6 separate regions of the Homo sapiens genome follow, and all the other regions are linked to region 5. Evidence: promoter capture Hi-C in human tissues and cell types (Jung and others, 2019). All regions are on one chromosome and are shown on one strand. Each heading gives the region's core, a stretch centred on a gene start or on the middle of the fragment in contact. The rest is flanking DNA. Distances are from core to core; before and after follow the strand shown. Region 1 has its middle 12 kb from the start of LL22NC03-63E9.3. Region 2 holds the start of ZNF280B (zinc finger protein 280B). Region 3 holds the start of CHCHD10 (coiled-coil-helix-coiled-coil-helix domain containing 10). Region 4 holds the start of SMARCB1 (SWI/SNF related BAF chromatin remodeling complex subunit B1). Region 5 holds the start of RAB36 (RAB36, member RAS oncogene family). Region 6 holds the start of ZNF70 (zinc finger protein 70).

The links. Contacts are between HindIII fragments. The study calls those that stand out against the background at their distance.
Region 1: a fragment that was not itself captured here is called in contact with the fragment with the promoter of RAB36 in region 5 in 3 of the 25 tissues and cell types used here (H1 embryonic stem cells, dorsolateral prefrontal cortex and lymphoblastoid cells).
Region 2: the fragment with the promoter of ZNF280B here is called in contact with the fragment with the promoter of RAB36 in region 5 in 5 of the 25 tissues and cell types used here (H1 embryonic stem cells, dorsolateral prefrontal cortex, heart left ventricle and 2 more).
Region 3: the fragment with the promoter of CHCHD10 here is called in contact with the fragment with the promoter of RAB36 in region 5 in 2 of the 25 tissues and cell types used here (adrenal gland and dorsolateral prefrontal cortex).
Region 4: the fragment with the promoter of SMARCB1 here is called in contact with the fragment with the promoter of RAB36 in region 5 in 6 of the 25 tissues and cell types used here (H1 embryonic stem cells, dorsolateral prefrontal cortex, heart left ventricle and 3 more).
Region 6: a contact is called between the fragment with the promoter of ZNF70 here and the fragment with the promoter of RAB36 in region 5, in 4 of the 25 tissues and cell types used here (dorsolateral prefrontal cortex, lymphoblastoid cells, spleen and 1 more).

Annotation. Positions count from the first base shown.
Region 1 is chr22:22,570,243-22,572,942 of GRCh38, reverse strand. It overlaps IGL. Among named protein-coding and RNA genes, the nearest start is that of LL22NC03-63E9.3, 12 kb to the right of the region's middle. The HindIII fragment of the contact is 4,847 bases long and covers 1-2,700 here.
Region 2 is chr22:22,507,347-22,510,046 of GRCh38, reverse strand. ZNF280B (zinc finger protein 280B) reads left to right here and starts at 1,305. Exons shown (of 4, transcript NM_080764.4): 1 at 1,305-1,388; 2 at 2,177-2,237. It also overlaps IGL. The HindIII fragment of the contact is 18,670 bases long and covers 1-2,700 here.
Region 3 is chr22:23,766,697-23,769,580 of GRCh38, reverse strand. CHCHD10 (coiled-coil-helix-coiled-coil-helix domain containing 10) reads left to right here and starts at 1,609. Exons shown (of 4, transcript NM_213720.3): 1 at 1,609-1,747; 2 at 1,988-2,207. The coding sequence starts at 1,707. LOC107985577 (a long non-coding RNA gene) reads right to left here and starts at 1,355. Exons shown (of 3, transcript XR_007068022.1): 1 at 788-1,355. RefSeq lists an enhancer at 2,472-2,884. The HindIII fragment of the contact is 13,382 bases long and covers 1-2,884 here.
Region 4 is chr22:23,785,558-23,788,321 of GRCh38, reverse strand. It overlaps SMARCB1 (SWI/SNF related BAF chromatin remodeling complex subunit B1), which reads right to left and starts at 1,356. Exons shown (of 9, transcript NM_003073.5): 1 at 1,060-1,356. The coding sequence starts at 1,152. The HindIII fragment of the contact is 20,978 bases long and covers 1-2,764 here.
Region 5 is chr22:23,143,978-23,146,738 of GRCh38, reverse strand. RAB36 (RAB36, member RAS oncogene family) reads right to left here and starts at 1,262. Exons shown (of 11, transcript NM_004914.5): 1 at 1,188-1,262; 2 at 54-134. The coding sequence starts at 122. It also overlaps a transcript of RSPH14 not described here. RefSeq lists a silencer at 1,440-1,509. The HindIII fragment of the contact is 15,551 bases long and covers 1-2,761 here.
Region 6 is chr22:23,749,546-23,752,376 of GRCh38, reverse strand. ZNF70 (zinc finger protein 70) reads left to right here and starts at 1,265. Exons shown (of 2, transcript NM_021916.4): 1 at 1,265-1,666. RefSeq lists enhancers at 1-49, 890-949, 832-1,507 and a silencer at 1,100-1,549. The HindIII fragment of the contact is 11,413 bases long and covers 1-2,831 here.

The DNA of each region.
Region 1 (2,700 bases), core at 127-2,626, 570 kb after region 5:
CCCATGGGATGATGCATGATTTCCGTATGTTTTTCTACAAGGACTTGGAAGCAGCGTATAGTAGATTGAATGGCTCCTCCAAAGATACCAGGTGTAATCATTTAGAGGTCTTTGTTTTTAGTCACTCAGTTTATGGTTTGGTCATTTATCACAGCAACTACAGTGAATTAATCCTTGGGGTAAATATCCTACTCTGGAATGACTAGACATTGCAAGTTAGGCTCTTTCAGAAACTTGTTAATGGGGTTTGACCCTTCTTCCTTACTTCCCTCTGAAAATATAGATTAAAAGCTAGGCCGGAAGCTATGGCTCATACCTGTAATCCCAGCAATTTGGGAGGCTGAGGCAGGAGGATCACTTGAGGCCAGGAGTTCGAGACTACTCTGGATAACCTAGTGAGACCCCCCCATCTCAACAAAAAAATAAAAAATAAGCTAAAAAGATTAGAAGCTGTCCCTTTCTTGGTGGCTTATGCATCTTGCCCCGAGAGGTGCCATGCTATACTGACTGACTCCATCATTCAATGTCAGGTGCCTTGCTGCCACTTCATCTTTTGCCACACACCTGGCTCCTATGCTTAAGCCCTGACAATGTGACACTATCACTGCATGGTCCTTCCATCCGTATTGCTATCAACTTCCTTACCAGCTTCCCCTGCTGGCCTGGTCTAGAGAACTACCCACTGAGTTTCTCAAGGATGCTGGATTTCTCTCACCAGTGCACCGCTTATCAATCAATTACAGACTGCAGTCCCCAGGCCCTCCTGAGAATTCTCTCACTTGGGGAGATGTCCATGAGTACCTGGTATTGCCTTTCCAGCTAAGCACTCTCAGAACCCTTCTCTCTCTCTCTCTCTTTCTTTCTTTTCTTTTCTTTCCTTCTTTCCCTCTCTCTCTCCCTTCCTTCCTTTCTTTCTCCCTCTCTCTTTCTTTCTTTTCTTTTTTCTTTCTCTCCTTCCTTCCCTTCCTCCCTTCCCTTCCCCTTCCTTCCTTTCTTTCTCTCCATCTCTCTCTTTCTTTCTCTCTCTCTCTCTCTTTCTTTTTTTCAGGGTCTCACTCTGTCGCCCAGGCTGGAACAGCTGGCTACAGTCTTAAACTCCCCAGGCTGAAGCAATCCTCCTACCTCAGACTCCCTAGTAGCTGGGACTACAGGAGTGTGCCACCATGCCTGACTAATTTTTTTTAATCTTTTGTACAGACAGGGTCTCACTATATTGCCCAGGCTGGTCTTGATCTCCTAGCCTCAAGCCATTCTCCCACAGTGGCCTCCCAAGGTGCCGGGATTACAGGCATAAGCCACCACACCTGGCCTCCCAGGACCTTTTGATTCCTCTCCCACCATCTGCCACAGCACATCTGGCATTATGACCTTGCTTGGTACGGACCATTGCTTTCTCTGTCCTCCTAAGGGCAATCCTTGCGGCGGGCTTGCGGAATGCCTCAATGTCTTTGCTAGGGGGTTAAAGCCTGCGTCCCAGGAGAGTGCTTCCAGCAGATAAACCCTCCCCAATCCAATCTTAGGTTTTGCACTTTGATCTTACACCCTCAGAATCCAGCCCCATACACACTCGCCTGGGGCCCACTGCACGTGTTGGCTGGTTCTGGAGCTCCTTAGTTCTGCAGCAGGTCTATCACATTCCTTGCCAGGTTTCTTTGGGACTCAATTCTAGTTATTGGTCCATTGGTCTTAATAGGAGGTGGTGGCAGATTTCTGGGGACACTTGTGGTGGTGGATACAATCTCACAGGTCAGAGGTCTCTGCATCATCTTCAGGCAAAAGGAAGGGAGACATGGGTTTCAATGAGTAAGGGAGGGCCACTTCTGCAGGTTTGGAAAATTCAAGGACATCAAGATTTTCAGGTGCGTGAATCCAGATGGCCTCGTCCCGTGACTCAGTACCCCACTGTTACCCTGTCAGGGTCCCGATGGTCTGCTACACTTAGGATTAAGTTCTGGGCTTCAGTCTTCCCTGCCCTCTGTCCAAGCAGATGAGAGGGCAGGGAAGGCTCAGGCCCAGAGGAAGAGTGCAAGCCAAAAAGCTTTTCCAGCCCAAGATGAAGCTTTTTTTCAGCCCAGGGGGAAGCTTTTTTTTTCAGCCCAGGAGGAAGCTTTTTGGCTTGCGCTCTGATGGAGTTAAAAATGTACCAGTCTATGGATTAACAAAATGTGGCACATATACACCATGGAACACTATGCAGCCATAAAAATTGATGAGTTCATGTCCTTTGTAGGGACATGGATGAAGCTGGAAACCATCATTCTCAGCAAACTGTCACAAGGACGAAAAACCAAACACCGCATGTTCTCACTCATAGGTGGGAATTGAACAATGAGAACACATGGACACAGTGGGGGAACATCACACACCGGGGCCTGTTGTGGGGGGAGGGGGGAGGGATAGCATTAGGAGATATACCTGGTGTTAAATGACGAGTTGATGGGTGCAGCACACCAACATGGCACATGTATACATATGTAACTAACCTGCATGTTGTGCACATGTACCCTAAAACTTAAAGTATAATAAAAAAAAAAAGAAAAGAAATAAAAAAGTACCGGTCTAGCAAATTGACTATTTAAGTAAAAGGCACTTGAAAACACCAGTTGCAAAAAGATCATTCTGCTGTTTTCTGTTTCTTAAAAGCAGAAGACAAAAGTCCCATGTGAAAAACCCTGTCCCTCCCTATGCTAGAAGGAAAAG
Region 2 (2,700 bases), core at 56-2,555, 640 kb after region 5:
GTACCCTTTCTGCAGAAAGTGAAAATGGCCTTGCTGAGAAAATTAAATTTATGTTCAAGTGCTATTTCTTTGCGGCACCAGGGAACAAGCATTTCTAACAACTAGCAAAATTAGGACATATCTAATTGAAGGATAATGAACATATTACCAAGCGGACTGGTGAGACACAGTTAAACTGGTACTTAAAGGTAAATTTATAGCATTAAATACAAGAGAAACAAAAAAGTTTACAAGCAAACGAGGTAGGCATTTTTCTCCAAAAGTTGTAATGAGAAGTAACAGAACAAGCCTATGAAGTCACGAAGGAAGAAAATAACAGAATGGAAGAAATAGATAAAATAGATAAGAAAATAACATTATAGATTAATTAAACCAAAAGCGATTTACCCGCCCCCCAAAAAGATTGCTAAAATAGACTTTTGGCAGAATTGGTCAATTCAAAAAAAAAATCAAAGCTGCAAGTAAACTGAGTGGGCAAACTTTCTGTAAAGGGCCAGACAGTAAATATTTTAAGCTTTTCATACATGGTCTCTGGCAATTAATCAACTTTGCTGTTGAAGCAGGAAAACAGGCATAAATAATACCGAAAGGAATGGGCATGTTTGTTGTTCCAATAAAACTTTATTTATGGACACTGAATTTTGAATTTCATATAATTTTCACATGCCACAAAATATTCTCTTTTTAGCCATTAAAAAAACGTGAAATCGGTTCTTAGCTTGCTGCCAGCTGTACAAAAACAGGTGGCAGGCTGGATTCAACTGGCCCCAGATGTAACTAGAAGAGGACAGATGTTAGGTTCAGTTGTTTCCTCACAATCCCTTAAGCATGGATAGTCAACAAAGGGACCACACCTGAGAATTATAACAGCTGGCCTTCTGGTGGGCAAACCATCCCCTGATGGACTGGAAGCCTACCCCCCACCCCAAGCCCTGGCTGCGACAGCTCTGGAACCCTGACTGCCTGGGTGCCCCTCAGCTCTGGAACCCTGACTGCCTGGATGCTCCTCAGCTCTGGAACCCTGACTGCTTGGATACCCCCTCAGCTCTGGAACCCTGACTGCCTGGAACCGTGATCCGGAACCCAAGATCCTTTCAAGGCCTCAGGGGTATTGCTGCTGCCCTCCTCCTTCTCAATTTAACCCCGCGTCCAGCCGTCGCCACCAGGGGCGTCAGAGCGCGCGCATGCTCCTAGCTCGGAGCCGCGCCGATCTCGCGCCGGCACCTGGCAGCCAATCGCAGGTCTCCACTGGACGCGCGCGTGTGGAGGCGTGCGCGTCGGCGGCGCCGGGGGCCTGAGGAGGCGTAGTCGCCGCCGGCTGTGCCCCGGGAGCGCCTCCGGGGCTGGTGCGTGGCCGGCAGCTCGCGAACAGCAGCTGATCCGGACTGGTAAGGACGGGGGCGTGGCGCGGCTTCAGCGTTCCCTGAGGGGAGACTTGAGGGATTTCATGGCGAGCCGCAGCCCTGCGGGTCGCGACACCGCGCTTGGCCGTGCGCTGCCGGAGCGGCCTTTGCAATACAGCCGCTTTCTGTGGGGGAGTGCAGGGCAGAAGCAGGTCCCACGATCCCCTCACGCACACCCCCTTCCCTAATCTCAGCGGGCGCCACTTTTACATCAGCCTCCACTCCCTCACGCAGACGCCCCCACCCCCGGGCTGGGCCCGGGCCTCCTGGAGAAGGGGCCTTTCCTGGCTCCCAGTGCGCTCCCCTCCCCCATCGCCCCCGCGGGGTCTCTTTTGGCGCTCAATGTATTTAAAAATCTGAAAACTGCTTTGTAACCCCAGGCCCTCCCCAGTTCTGGAGACCTGTAGGCCCAGACCCCTTAAGGCATTTGAATGTATGGGTCTCTCTCCCCTACCGCAGCGTCTTGTCTCATTTACTGCGTCGCTGTCGGGACTCTTAATGCAGCCCCTGGGACCCTAATGGAGTCCCTCCCGTGAGAGCCAGGACCTCGGGTGATTTGCAGGCTTTTGATTTGGGCAGTTGGCGGGTGGGACGTTTTCCTTTGCTAAGGTAGGGTAGATTGGAGGAACAGATCTGGGGGAAAGGAGTTCAGTTCACTTATCTGGTTAAGTGTGAGATGATTGATAAACACCTAAATGGCAATGTCAGGCAGTGGGATCGAAAATATTCTTGTGACATGTAAGTAACTAATGCTTCTCTCTGGTTACCTCAAGGATGTGACCTTCTGCCTGGAATAGCTCAAGTTCTTAAAAGTTGCGTTGTAATAAACCTGAGGTAAGAAAAGAGAAGTCTCCCTGATGAGGACCAAAGTTGTATTTTCGTCCTTCAGTTTCGCTCCCCTGCCCTTTCCTTTGCTGAAACATAGCTGTTTGGTATTCAATATTTTACTGAGGGAATCTGAATGATGTGTTTGATTAGTTCAGGCCAATTGTTGATGTAGGTCATTCGGGAACCCTCTAAATTGCTTTGTTGAGAAAGGAGAGGGTGGTAGTGGCATTCTTTTACCACATCTCTTGAAAAAAAAAAAAAGAGCATCAGGGATGTTAAGTTATATAAAGCTGACTCCTTTTATCCTACCCTCTTTCTCAGCGACTGTATTTCATGAGGTAACTGCATGCAGCAGGACAGGGGAGGTCATCTGAAGTCATTGCATGCCAGTAGGTGAGATTATAGTGAATTGTGTGCCCAGCAATTTGTGATTACAGCTCAGTGAGACCCATTGTATTAGTTATCTATT
Region 3 (2,884 bases), core at 360-2,859, 620 kb before region 5:
CCCCCCTTCAGAGAGGAGAAACTGAAGACAGGGCGGGGAAGGGCCCTGTTCACAGGCTGGCTGAAAGGACTGCAGTGTGAGAGAACACAGGGCTGCACCTGACTTCCATGGAGAGCATGCATGGCTGGGGACAGCTGTGCACACACAGAATTGAGCATGCCAGGCAGGGCCAAACGCCCCAGCCACCACTCCCCTTGCCCCTTGACCTGCTCCTTCCTTATGGAGGGGCCTCCTCTCTTACTTGGTGACCCACACCCCCACTTCTGGGTGCTTTTGCTCTTGGTTGCACCCTGCCGACAATCCCGGTGTCAGGAGTCCTCTGCAGGCACAGCAGTGATGAGGGACAGTCCCTACCTTCCCCCACCTAGGAGTAATAATATGACCACTGCAAAGTCACCCAGAAAAGACCATAAAAACCTCAAGCTCAGCCGGGCGCGATGGCTCATGCTTGTAATCCCAGCACTTTGGGAGGCTGAGGTAGGAGGATCATGAGCTCAGGAGTTGGAGACCAGTTTGGCCAACATGGTGAAACCCCGTCTCTACTAAAAATACAAAAATTAGCCAGGTGTGGTGGCACGAGCCTGTAGTCCCAGCTACTCAGGAGGCTGAGGCAGGAGAATTGCTTGAATCCGGGAGGTGGAGGTTGCAGTGAGCCGAGATCGCCACTGCACTCCAACCTGGGCGACAGAGCAAGGCTCCGTGTCAAAAAAAAAAAAGTAAAAAGTAAAATTAAAACCTCAAGTTCTCGAAGAGCAGGAAAGCATTCTAAATCCGCGCTCCAGCTCACCTGGCCTGGAACGAAGCTGCTAAAATTGCGAGGCCGCAGGCTTCAAACTTGCGCTAGATTTGACCGAGCCGGGCAAATGCTCCTAGGCCTTTGGGATAGACACGCTGCTCGGATGTCGCGTAAAGGCCGTTAGTGTCGGGGGTTGCACTCGCGGGGCCAGGGACTAGGTGGGGGCGGTCGGGCCGGCCCGGGGAATCCGGTGGGGTTCAGGGCCGCGCGGGGGGCCTCATATCCCCCGCGGGCACTGCGTAAGGCTGCCAGCATTGGCAGCGCATTTTGGCCAACAGTCGAAGACGGGTTGGGACGCCCCCTCGTGGGAGTTCTGGGGATGGGTTGCTCCAGGCCTTCCCCAGGGCCGCGCTTCACTTCCCTAGGCCACCGGAGACTCCCAGGCCACGCGGTGGTCAGCAGACCCTGTCTGGAGGGAGGGGACAGACAGCCGAGTCCGGGAGGGGGCAGAGAGCGGAGTCCAGCCTGGAGCCTCGCGTCCCCTTCCCAGCTGGCCCCATCCCGTCGCCTCCCCGTCTCCTCTCCCCTCCAGGGCTCGCAACAACCCCCAACTCCGCTCCCTGCCCTCTGCGGTGGTCCTAACAGAAGGCACTGTCGCCCTCCTTAAGCCCTCGGCGCTTTGCGACACTGGCCCCTGTCCCCAGAACCCGCACAGCCTGCCAGGCGCAGGGAGGGAGCAGGGTCCCATTTCCAGCCGAGACCCGGAGCTGCTGGAAGGGAGATGTCCGGAGGACGGGAGAAGGGGGATAGGGTTGGGGGCAGTGCCGCCTCCCGCTGGGGGCGTGTTCCTGAGGCCCCGCCCGGGGCCCCGCCTTTTTTGCGCCGGCTGTGACAAGCGCTGCGGCATTTGTCCCCGCGACAGCACCGCTGCCGCCGTCTCTAAGGTCGCCCGGGTCCCACCGCCGCCACCATGCCTCGGGGAAGCCGCAGCGCGGCCTCCCGGCCAGCCAGGTGTGAGGGGGACAAGGGCCCTGTGGGGAGGGGGTTAGGGAAGTGTGGGCACTCCCCTAAGGGCGTCCGCAGAGTGACCTTGGCTGCTGCTGCGCCATCTTGGCGGGGGGAGGGGTGGGGGTGCAGCACCCACGTGTGGAGACGTGGGTCGTCCATCTCTCCGGGGGTCGTTTCCAGGAGCTGCAGCCCTCCAGCCTGGGGTCTGGCCAGGATTAACCCTGCTTCCTCCCACCCCCGCAGCCGCCCAGCCGCGCCCTCTGCCCACCCGCCCGCGCACCCACCGCCCTCGGCAGCCGCCCCAGCCCCCGCCCCTTCGGGCCAGCCGGGGCTCATGGCTCAGATGGCGACCACGGCCGCAGGGGTAGCCGTGGGCTCGGCTGTGGGACACGTCATGGGCAGCGCCCTGACCGGAGCCTTCAGCGGGGGGAGCTCGGAGCCCTCCCAGCCTGCTGTCCAGCAGGTGAGCAGCGAGTCCAAGAGAAACTGAGGCAGGATTATCTCGAGGCCACACAGGGAGCTGCCCAAGTGTCCAGTGAGGAGTGTCCGCGTGTATTCACCATTGCTTCAGCCCAGGACTCTGCCCGGGAAGGGTCCTAGTCCACTGGTCTTGAGTTCACTGTCACTTAGAGGCAGGCTTCCCGGCCTCTCCCTTGAGGCCAGGGTCCCTAAGCTCCCAGGGAGAGACACCAACCAGCCCTTTAAAGATGGGAAACCCAGGCCCTGAGGGCTCAGAGACTCGCCCAAGGTCACCTCACCCTAGCAGAGGGGAGGGATGTTGGATTTCCTGAGCCCCTGTTCTCCCCACACCCAGGTCTGGGCACTGTGGCCGCTGGGCGCAAGGGCGAAGGGGAGCCACTTCCCTGATGACCTTTCCCCTGCTAGGAACCCCACCGCCGTAAGCCAAATGTGGCTTTGTGGCTAGGTCAGGGGTCATGAGGATTAGTGTAGCTGAGCCAGGAAGGTGCTAGAACTTGTGGGGGTGGGGCTCATACTCTGAGAGTACAGGCAGAGTACTGGGCTTTCCTAGAGCCTTCTCCTCCCTCTCCTGCACCCGCCCAAAGTGCCCATTAGAAGGCAGCAGAGGCCAGGCGCAGTGGCTCATGCCTGTAATCCCAGCACTTTGGGAGGCCAAGGCGG
Region 4 (2,764 bases), core at 107-2,606, 640 kb before region 5:
ACTTCCTTACATGAGATTCTACTGCTTGACATTTGTACATCTGAACTGTATATCCATAATTTTTTTAAAAAGGTAACATATACTAGCTGGGGACTGCCTTTGGAGCAAAAAAGGCTAGTTTGAGACAATCTGTAAAAACCTAATATATGGCCGGGTGTGGTGGCTCATGCCTGTAATCCTAGCACTTTGGGAGACCCAGACGGGCAGACTGCTTGAGCCCAGGAGTTGGAGACCTGCCTGCGCAACATAGCCAGACCCTGTCTCTATAAAAAACAAAAAACAAGAACCTAATAGACTTGGAACAAACACCCATTCAAAGGCCAGTAGAGTTTTCCTGAAGTCAGTCATCCAGTTGATGCAACAAAATGCAGCCACTCTAGTTAAGGGTTAAACATCCTTAGGCTCTTTCCCCTGTAATAATTCAGAATCAGTTCACAGATATGGAAAGTGTCAATCGCTTCAGAACTGCTGAAAGATCTAGCTTAGGCATGGGGCCCTTATTCACCCAAAAGCAAACATCTTCCTCCAATCTGTTTCTTCACCGGTAAACAAAGGTCAAAAGACCTCCACTGCTCACCTAAGAGGCAACAAACACAATGGGGATGAGCCCTCACTAAGTCCAGGGTTTCCAGCCTGCCATTTGAGGTTCCCACAAGTAGCAATACGGGGAGGGGTGCACGTGAAATTTACGACATCTAAAAAGGGTCAAAGGCAGCAGTGCAGTCCCCCAAGCGTCGCAGGGGCTAACTCAATATCCCGTTTCTTTGCGTCTGACTGGAAACCAACCCAGCGCGGAACCACTGGGGCCCCTCGCGGCGCCAAAATCTTGGCAGCACTGAAGGCGGCGGACCTCGGCGAAATAAGTAAGGAAATCCCAGGTCGATGAGGGGGCGGGGGCCACACCCGACACGCCCACTAGGCCACGCCCCACAGCCCCGAGCGCGCGCGCGCGCGCCCGCCCGCCCCGATGAATGGAGACGCGCGCTCTCGGCGCATGGGCCCGCCCCGGGGCTCCCGCGGGGCCGAGCCCGGGGAGGGCGAGAACGCGCCCCGGGCTACCTCGGAGCCGATCATGTAGAACTCGCCGTCGTCCTCCAGCTGGAACTTCACGGGCTTCTGCCCGAAGGTCTTGCTCAGCGCCATCATCATCATTGCGGCGGCAGAGGCGGGCGGCCGGAGCCGGGCTGCGAGGGATCAGGAGGGCTGGGGCGGGGCCGGGGCGTGCTGGGCCGAGGGAAACCGAAGCCGGAAGGCGAAATGCGGACCGGGCCGGGTACTGGCGCCTCAGCCGGGCTCCTCAGCCGCCGCCGCCGCCGCAGACGACGACCAGGCCGCCCTCAGTGCGCAGGCGCTGGCGTTGACGCTGACGCGCGCGCCGCCGCTCAAACAAAAGGCCGGGCGCGCCTCCGCGGACCCCTTAAAGGAGCCACGACTAATTTCTCTTTCTCCCAGGCTGCCTCCCAAGTCGTGGTGTAGAGGACTTCTCACGGACAAAAATAGCCAATGAGGTCCTGACTCAAGCAGTGGCTTTCCCAGTCTTACAGCCAGGACTGGAACTGAGCCCAGGGGAAAAGCAACGAAGTGAGGCCTGAAGGAGGAGGACCTAGTATCTGGAAGCCTGGGTGGTCTGGGCATGCTTTGGGACCCCAATCTCGTGCCTTAGCTTCCCCACCCCTAAAACGCAGTGCAGCTGAGCAGATAGGCAGGCCCCTAGGAAGAGATATCCCAGTTCCGGGCCTACGGCTGTCCCTGCAGCTGTGGAGGTGGGCAAAATGACAACAGCGGATGAGGCTTGGCAATGTTCAAAGGCCCAGGTGGTATTTGGTTTGGCTGGTGCATCAGATGAGCGTTGGAAGGGAGAGACACCTTCCACCTTCTCCATTCCTCTCTTAGCCTACACTCTGCTTAACCGAGCCCTGCAGTGGGGAGTGAAACCAGGCAGCCCAGCCCTGTGGCTCTGCCTCTTGGCTCTTACAGCGCGAAGCTAGTGAAACTAATGAAAGTCTGAAAGCAATCATGATTGAATAATGCAGGGAGTAAAACAGTGGCCCACTACTGATGATTTCACACCGTTCAATCTAATGAAATTGCAGCTGTGGCTGGGCTCAGCGGCTCATGCCTGTAATCCCAACTCTTTTTTTTTTTTTTGAGGCTGGAGTCTCCTGCCTCAGCCTCCCAAGTAGCTGGGACTACAGGCACCCGCCACCACGCCCAGCTAATTTTTTGTATTTTTAGTAGAGACAGGGTTTCACCATGTTAGCCAGGATGGTCTCGATCTCCTGACCTCGTGATCCGCCCCCCTCGGCCTCCCAAAGTGCTGGGATTACAGGTGTGAGCCACTGCGCCCGGCCTTGTAATCCCAACTCTTTAGGAGGCCAAGGCAGGGAGGATCACTTGAAGCCAGGAGTTTGAGACCAGACTGGACAAGACAGCAAGACCCTGTCTCTACAAAAATTCTAAAATAAATAAGCTGGGTGTGGCATGGCGGTGTGCACCTGTAGCCCCAGCTACTTGGGAAGTGGAGAGGGGAAGATCCCTTGAGCCCAGGAGTTCAAGGTTATAGTGAGCTGATTGCACCACTGCACTGCAGCCTGGGCAACAAAGGGAGACCCTGCCTCTCTTAAAAAAAAAAAAAATGCAACTATGCTATTACGAAGACACACATGGGGCTGGAAGGTAGGGCAAGGAGACACTGGAGAGTTGGGAAGGGCAGTGACTGAAGTTGCTTTGTTCTGTATCCTCACAGTGGTGGGAAACCAAAGTA
Region 5 (2,761 bases), core at 13-2,512:
AGCTGATGTGGCTGCAGGGCCAGGAGAGCACTGCAGACGTAATGACTCTCTACCTTAGGGAAGCTGGCGATGACACGGTCGCGGCTCACAGGGGGCCCCAAAGGTGTCAGGGAGGACCTCATTCTTCCACAGTCCTGTGGACCCAACCAGGAGAAAGACAGTTAAGGAGCTGTGCAAATACCTGGGGATTCACCCATGAGTTTCCACCTAACTTTTCATCAGATCCAGGCTGGGTGCAGTGGCTCATGCCTGTAATCCCAGCACTTTGGGAGGCCAAGGTGGGAGGATCACTTGGGCCCAGGAGGTTGAGACCAGCCTGGGCAACAAAGTGAAACCTCAGTCTCTACAAAAAAAAACCAAAAAAATTAGCAGGGCATGGTGGCCTGTGCCTGCAGTCCCAGCTACTTGGGAGGAAGGTGGGAGGAATGCTTGAGCCTGGGAGGTCAAGGGTGCAGTGAACCGTGAAGGTGCCACTGCACTCCAGCCTGGGTGATAGAGTAAGACCTTGTCTCAAGAATTATAAATAAAACCAGATCCAGGCTTCCCTCTCTGTCAGGAATATGGGGCAGAGGCCATTTCTCTCAATCTGCATACAGCAGGCAGCATGGTATGGGGGAACCAGGCCTGCCCCACCCTGCCTGGGAGTCAGAAGACCTGGGTCTCCCCTTGACAGGTGTCTACCAAGGAGGAGCTCCCCTCTGAGCTTACCTTACTGGGCTGTGAGGCATGGCACAGCTCAGGCAGTGGAAGTAGAGTGGGGAGGGGTCTCCTGCTCCCAGTCTGCAAAGGACGAAGGCTCTAGGTGGGCCTGGGGGCCTTAACTTTCAGCCAACTAGGCCTTTTCCCTGAAAACCCTCACTTCACCAGGCCTCTGACTCCTCGAGCCTCCTCAACAGCCCCTCTGTCTCCTTTTTCTGTCCGGACTCCTCTCCAGGCTGGGCTGGGGTGGTCCTGGCGGAGTCCGGTTGTCTTCCCGCATCTGACCTGGCTCTCCTCCACAACCAGCGCGGGCCTGGCCCAGAGTTTGCGCTCCGGAAATGAGGACGCCCCGGGGCCGCAGGCCGCTTTCAAGTTATAGGGGCGGGAAGTGGGCGCGGACGCTGTGCCCTCGCGGCCCTGGCCTCGGGATGTGCCAGCACGGGGTTGGGTGACCGGGAGGGTCGGACAGAGTGGGCGAGCTGACTCACCAGCGATGGCTGTGAAAGCTGGGGCTCCGCGCGGCCTGGTCCGCCTGAGCCAGCGGCGGCGATCACCATGGCAACGAGAGCCACGCGGGACCTGCGGGCTACACGAATCGTCGACGTCGTGGGCGGGGTCTGCGTTGGACTGGCAGCGGCGCGTCCAAGCATCCAGCTTGCACCGGCGATCACCATAGCAACGAGAACCTGCCTGGAGTCTGGGCGGGGCTGGCAGCAGAGAGACTCCTGGACACCCTGGAGAGCCGGAGATCACCATGACAACAAGGGCGGTGCTGGATGGGTGGGCGGTGGGCGGGGCTATGGAGGCCCGGGGGCGGAGCCTGAGCCCTGGGTGGGGCTGACCGTGGAGAGATTCGCGCAGGTTCTGGTGATCAGCTCGGCTGGGAGAGGTTGGGCGGTTATGGCATAAGAGCTCCTGATGTGGTATTGATGTTTAATTGGAGTCAAGCACCCTGCAGCTGCAGAAGATAGACCTGCCTACCATCTACTGACCTTAGTCTGCATAGTTCTGAATCCAGTGCTGTCTGAATATCATATGCCTGGCTTCTAGAGCTCACGGTACAAAATTAATTTCCTTAATAAAAAGCTGACCTGAGTCAGTGATTTCCTCTGAACTAGTTTCGGTTTGGAAAGTTAGCTGTTTTGGGCTAGATGGCCTCTTGTGGCCCTTATAAAACCGTGGAACCAGCTTCGAAGTCCGGGGTTCAGTTTGAGAACCTACTTAATTCAGCTCCTTAACTTTTCTGCATCACAATATGGAAGCCTTGGTACACAGATCTAACTCAGTCATCTTCAATTCAAAGCTAAGTGTGCTGGAGGCTGGTGTTTGATGTCTTTTTTTTTTTTTTTTAAAGAGATGGAGTCTTGCTATGTTGTCCAGGCTGGACTCGAACTCCTAGGCTCAAGGAATCCTCCCGCCTCAGCCTCCCCAGTCCTTGGGACTACAGGCAAGGGCCACCACACCTGGCTCTGTTTAATGTCTTTTAGTGAGTTTCACTGCTAAGGTTGAGGCTTAGGGGGTGAACTTAGGTGAGTTGTTCCACCTTCCGCACCTCAGTTTACTCAACTATAAAATAAACGCAACTATCTATTTCAATGGATCACCTGAGATGGTGAAAGTGCTTTTATACTGTAAAGCTTGATTCAAGTCCATTAACTATTCATTTGTCCTACATGTACTGAAAGCTTCCTGGTATATGCCTAGCACTGGGGAGACAAGGAAAGAGAACGGACATGGTGTCCACCCTCAGGGAAATTGGAGTCCACTGCGGGAAGCAGAGAAGTAAATAGAGAATTAGGGGAAGGGAGTGTGCCAATGGGATTTAGGAGAAGGGAAGATTAAGCTGTGGGGTCACTTACTAATTTGGATTTGGGGATTTGGCAGGAGCTAGAGATCACCCTGAACTCCTCCTTTAGCTGTTTTTTTTTTTTTTTTTTTTTTTTTTTTGAGATGGAGTCTCACTCTGTCGCCCAGGCTGGAGTGCAGTAGTGTGATCTCGGCTCACTGCAATCTCCGCCTCCCGGCTCAAGCGATTCTCCTGCCTCAGCCTCCCGAGTAGCTG
Region 6 (2,831 bases), core at 16-2,515, 610 kb before region 5:
TTGGAGTCTGTGCCCAAGGCCCGACAGAGCATTAATGGGGCAGGAAGGCAGGTGTGTGTGGGTAGCATTGGAGGCACTCGAGCGCCAAGGCTGAGGGTGCTGAAGGCAGGTGGGCGGCTGGGGCAGAATCCTTTTTCCCAGGGACAGTGTGTTCTCCTGATGTCCTGTGATTGGGCCAAGGTCTGCGGAGGGAAGCTCTCCCACAAGCTGGGCAGCTGCACCTGAGGGGGGGGTGTCATGGGCAGAACACTGGGTGGAGGGGCCAGTCTTGCCATCAGCAGCAAGGAGGGGGCGGAGATTCCTTTTCTTTTTTTTTTTTTTGTTTTTTGAGATGGAGTCTCGCTCTGTCGCCCAGGCTGGAGTGCAATGGCACTATCTTGGCTCACTGCAACCTCCGCCTCTCAGGGTCAAACGATTCTCCTGTCTCAGTAGCTGGGATTACAGGCGCTTGTCACCACTCCCGGATAATTTTTAGTAGAAACAGGGTTTCACCATGTTGGTCTGGCTGAGTCTCGAACTCCTGACCTCGTGATCCACCCGCCTCCGCCTCCCAAAATGCTGGGATTAAAGGCGTGAGCCACCGCGCCCGGCCAAGGGGGCGGCCATTTCAAGAACACATTCCTCTTCCCTCCCGGTGCGCCTGAGAGGAGGCGCTTCATGTCGAAGTCAGCCCTGGGATGCAGAGAGTTGGGGGGCTCAGGGTCCTGGGATGGTCTCGCAGACACTCCTAGTTCTTCGCCTGCCCCTTCTCATCTCTATTTCTGTGGGGGCGGGGAGGGCAGACAGGAACAGGGCTACCCTTGAAGCAGGTTGGGGGAGGGGGATCCTAACAGGACCCCGGTGCCTGTGGACAGTGACAGGGTCGACAGCTCTGGGGCTCCACTCTCCTTTCCCTGAAGACCCCAGCTGCCTCAGTGGCTTCTGGCTTGCACCCAGCACCAGCGCAGATGCCCCGAGTGCCGGCGGCTCGAGGTCGGCCCGCCCGTCCGGACCTGTTTCCTCCTCTGCTCTCCTGCCAACGCCTGCCCATCTCTGTTTCCCCCACGTCCAGCACGCGCTTCGGGGACGGCCAGAGCCACCATGCCGACTGGAGAGACTCTCCTGATTCGGGTCCTTGTGTCCCGGGGCCCGGGCGGCTTCGCGCGGCGACAACCGGCGCGGTGGGACCACCGAGACGCCGGGACCTCCGCGCGGCCTAGAGTGGTCCCGGAAGTGCCCGCGGGCCGGGGGCGGGGCTCTGGGTGCTCGGGCGGCCGCGGGCTCCGCGTCAGCAGCTGCTGTGGAGCCAGGCAGCGTCGGCCGCGTCGGCCGCGGGTTGGAGCAGCTCAGGTGCGGCCCCGCCCCGCCCGCCTGCGGCCCCGCCCCGGCCCAGGTGAGCTGCCCCGCCCCGGCCCAGGTGAGTGGCCCCGCGTCCGCCGGTGTGACCTGAGTCCGCCTGACCACCTGTCCCTCCGGTGGCCCTGGGTGTGCGTGTCCCCAATCGCGGGGAAGCCTGTAGGGGCGCCACGTCGCCGCCTGGGCAGCGTGTGCGGGTCCGTGGCAACTCTTGGGCCCCCAGCCAGGAAACCTTGACTGCACTAAGAGTTTGCAGGGTGCCCAGGCCCTAGGGACTCTCTGGAGGATGGGATGACAGATGCAGGAGGACCCGGAGAAGGCCCCGACAGAGGTGGGAAGCATGGAGTTCCAGATCTTTGCATTTTCGGTCCAAAAACACTTATCATGTTGTGGGAGACAGATAAAGGGTTGCCAACTTTTTTCTGAGTGGAGACTTCAGGGTGTAGGGGCTATATAGTGGGAATGGAAAACCTCTACGGAGGGAAGTTTGAGAACACCAGGACTTAATGGGTGGGCGGAGGAAGAGTTGCAATCTAAAGATATCAAGAAAGAGAACTTGGAAGCCATGAAAATTGGGAAGAAAGCGAGGGTGGGGATGGGGTTGGGGGGTAGCTCAAAGCTTTCATGCACCTAGGTAGGCAATGTGGGCGGGTGAAGGGATATTGTCACATCTTCGTTTTTCAAGAGAAAGCCAGAAACCTACTGAGTTTTAAATATTGGTAACTAAGGAAAATGAACAGGAAAAGCCAAACTCTTCGAGAGCCAAACATAACATAGCAGGATCTTCAGGCTGCCAATTTGCAACCTCTGAAATGAAGGGTTTTGAGAAGGAGGTATTGGAGAGCAGTGCCAGATGGGGTGGGAAGGTGAAGACCGAGAAGAGAGGGATTGGCAATAAGGAGGTCATAGAATGCCAGAGCTGAGGTCCCAGCTGAAATCGGAAACTCGAAATTTGTCGTGGTGCCATACATAGTTGTATGATTTTTCTTGGCAACATTTAACAACTTAGGAGGAACTGGCCGAGAAGACTGGGACTTAGCGGCTAGTTGCAGCCGGACGAGGAGGTGAGGAGCATGGTGCTAGAGCGTGAGAGTTGAAGTGATGCGCATAGTATGGAGAGTCTAAGCTGGATGGAGAAGGGGTGGAGCTAGAAAAGGAGAACTACAGTAAAAATGGCTTGGATTTCATGAGGTCGAAAAGCACAAATTGAGTGAGAGAGCTGGAAGAGTTGGAGATTATGGGTTGCTGAAGAGGAGGGGGAGGGTGAGAGGAGTTGAAGTGATCAAAGAATTTTTGAAAATACTTTAGGGCTGGGCGAGGGGGCTCACGCCTATAATACCAGCACTTTCGGAGGCCAAAATGGGTGGATCGCATGAGCTCAGAAATTCGAGACCAGTCTGCACAACATGGCGAAAACCCATCTCTACAAAAAATACAAAAATTAGCCAGGTGTGGCACGTGCCTGTAGAGCCTGTATTCCCAGCTACTTTTTTTTT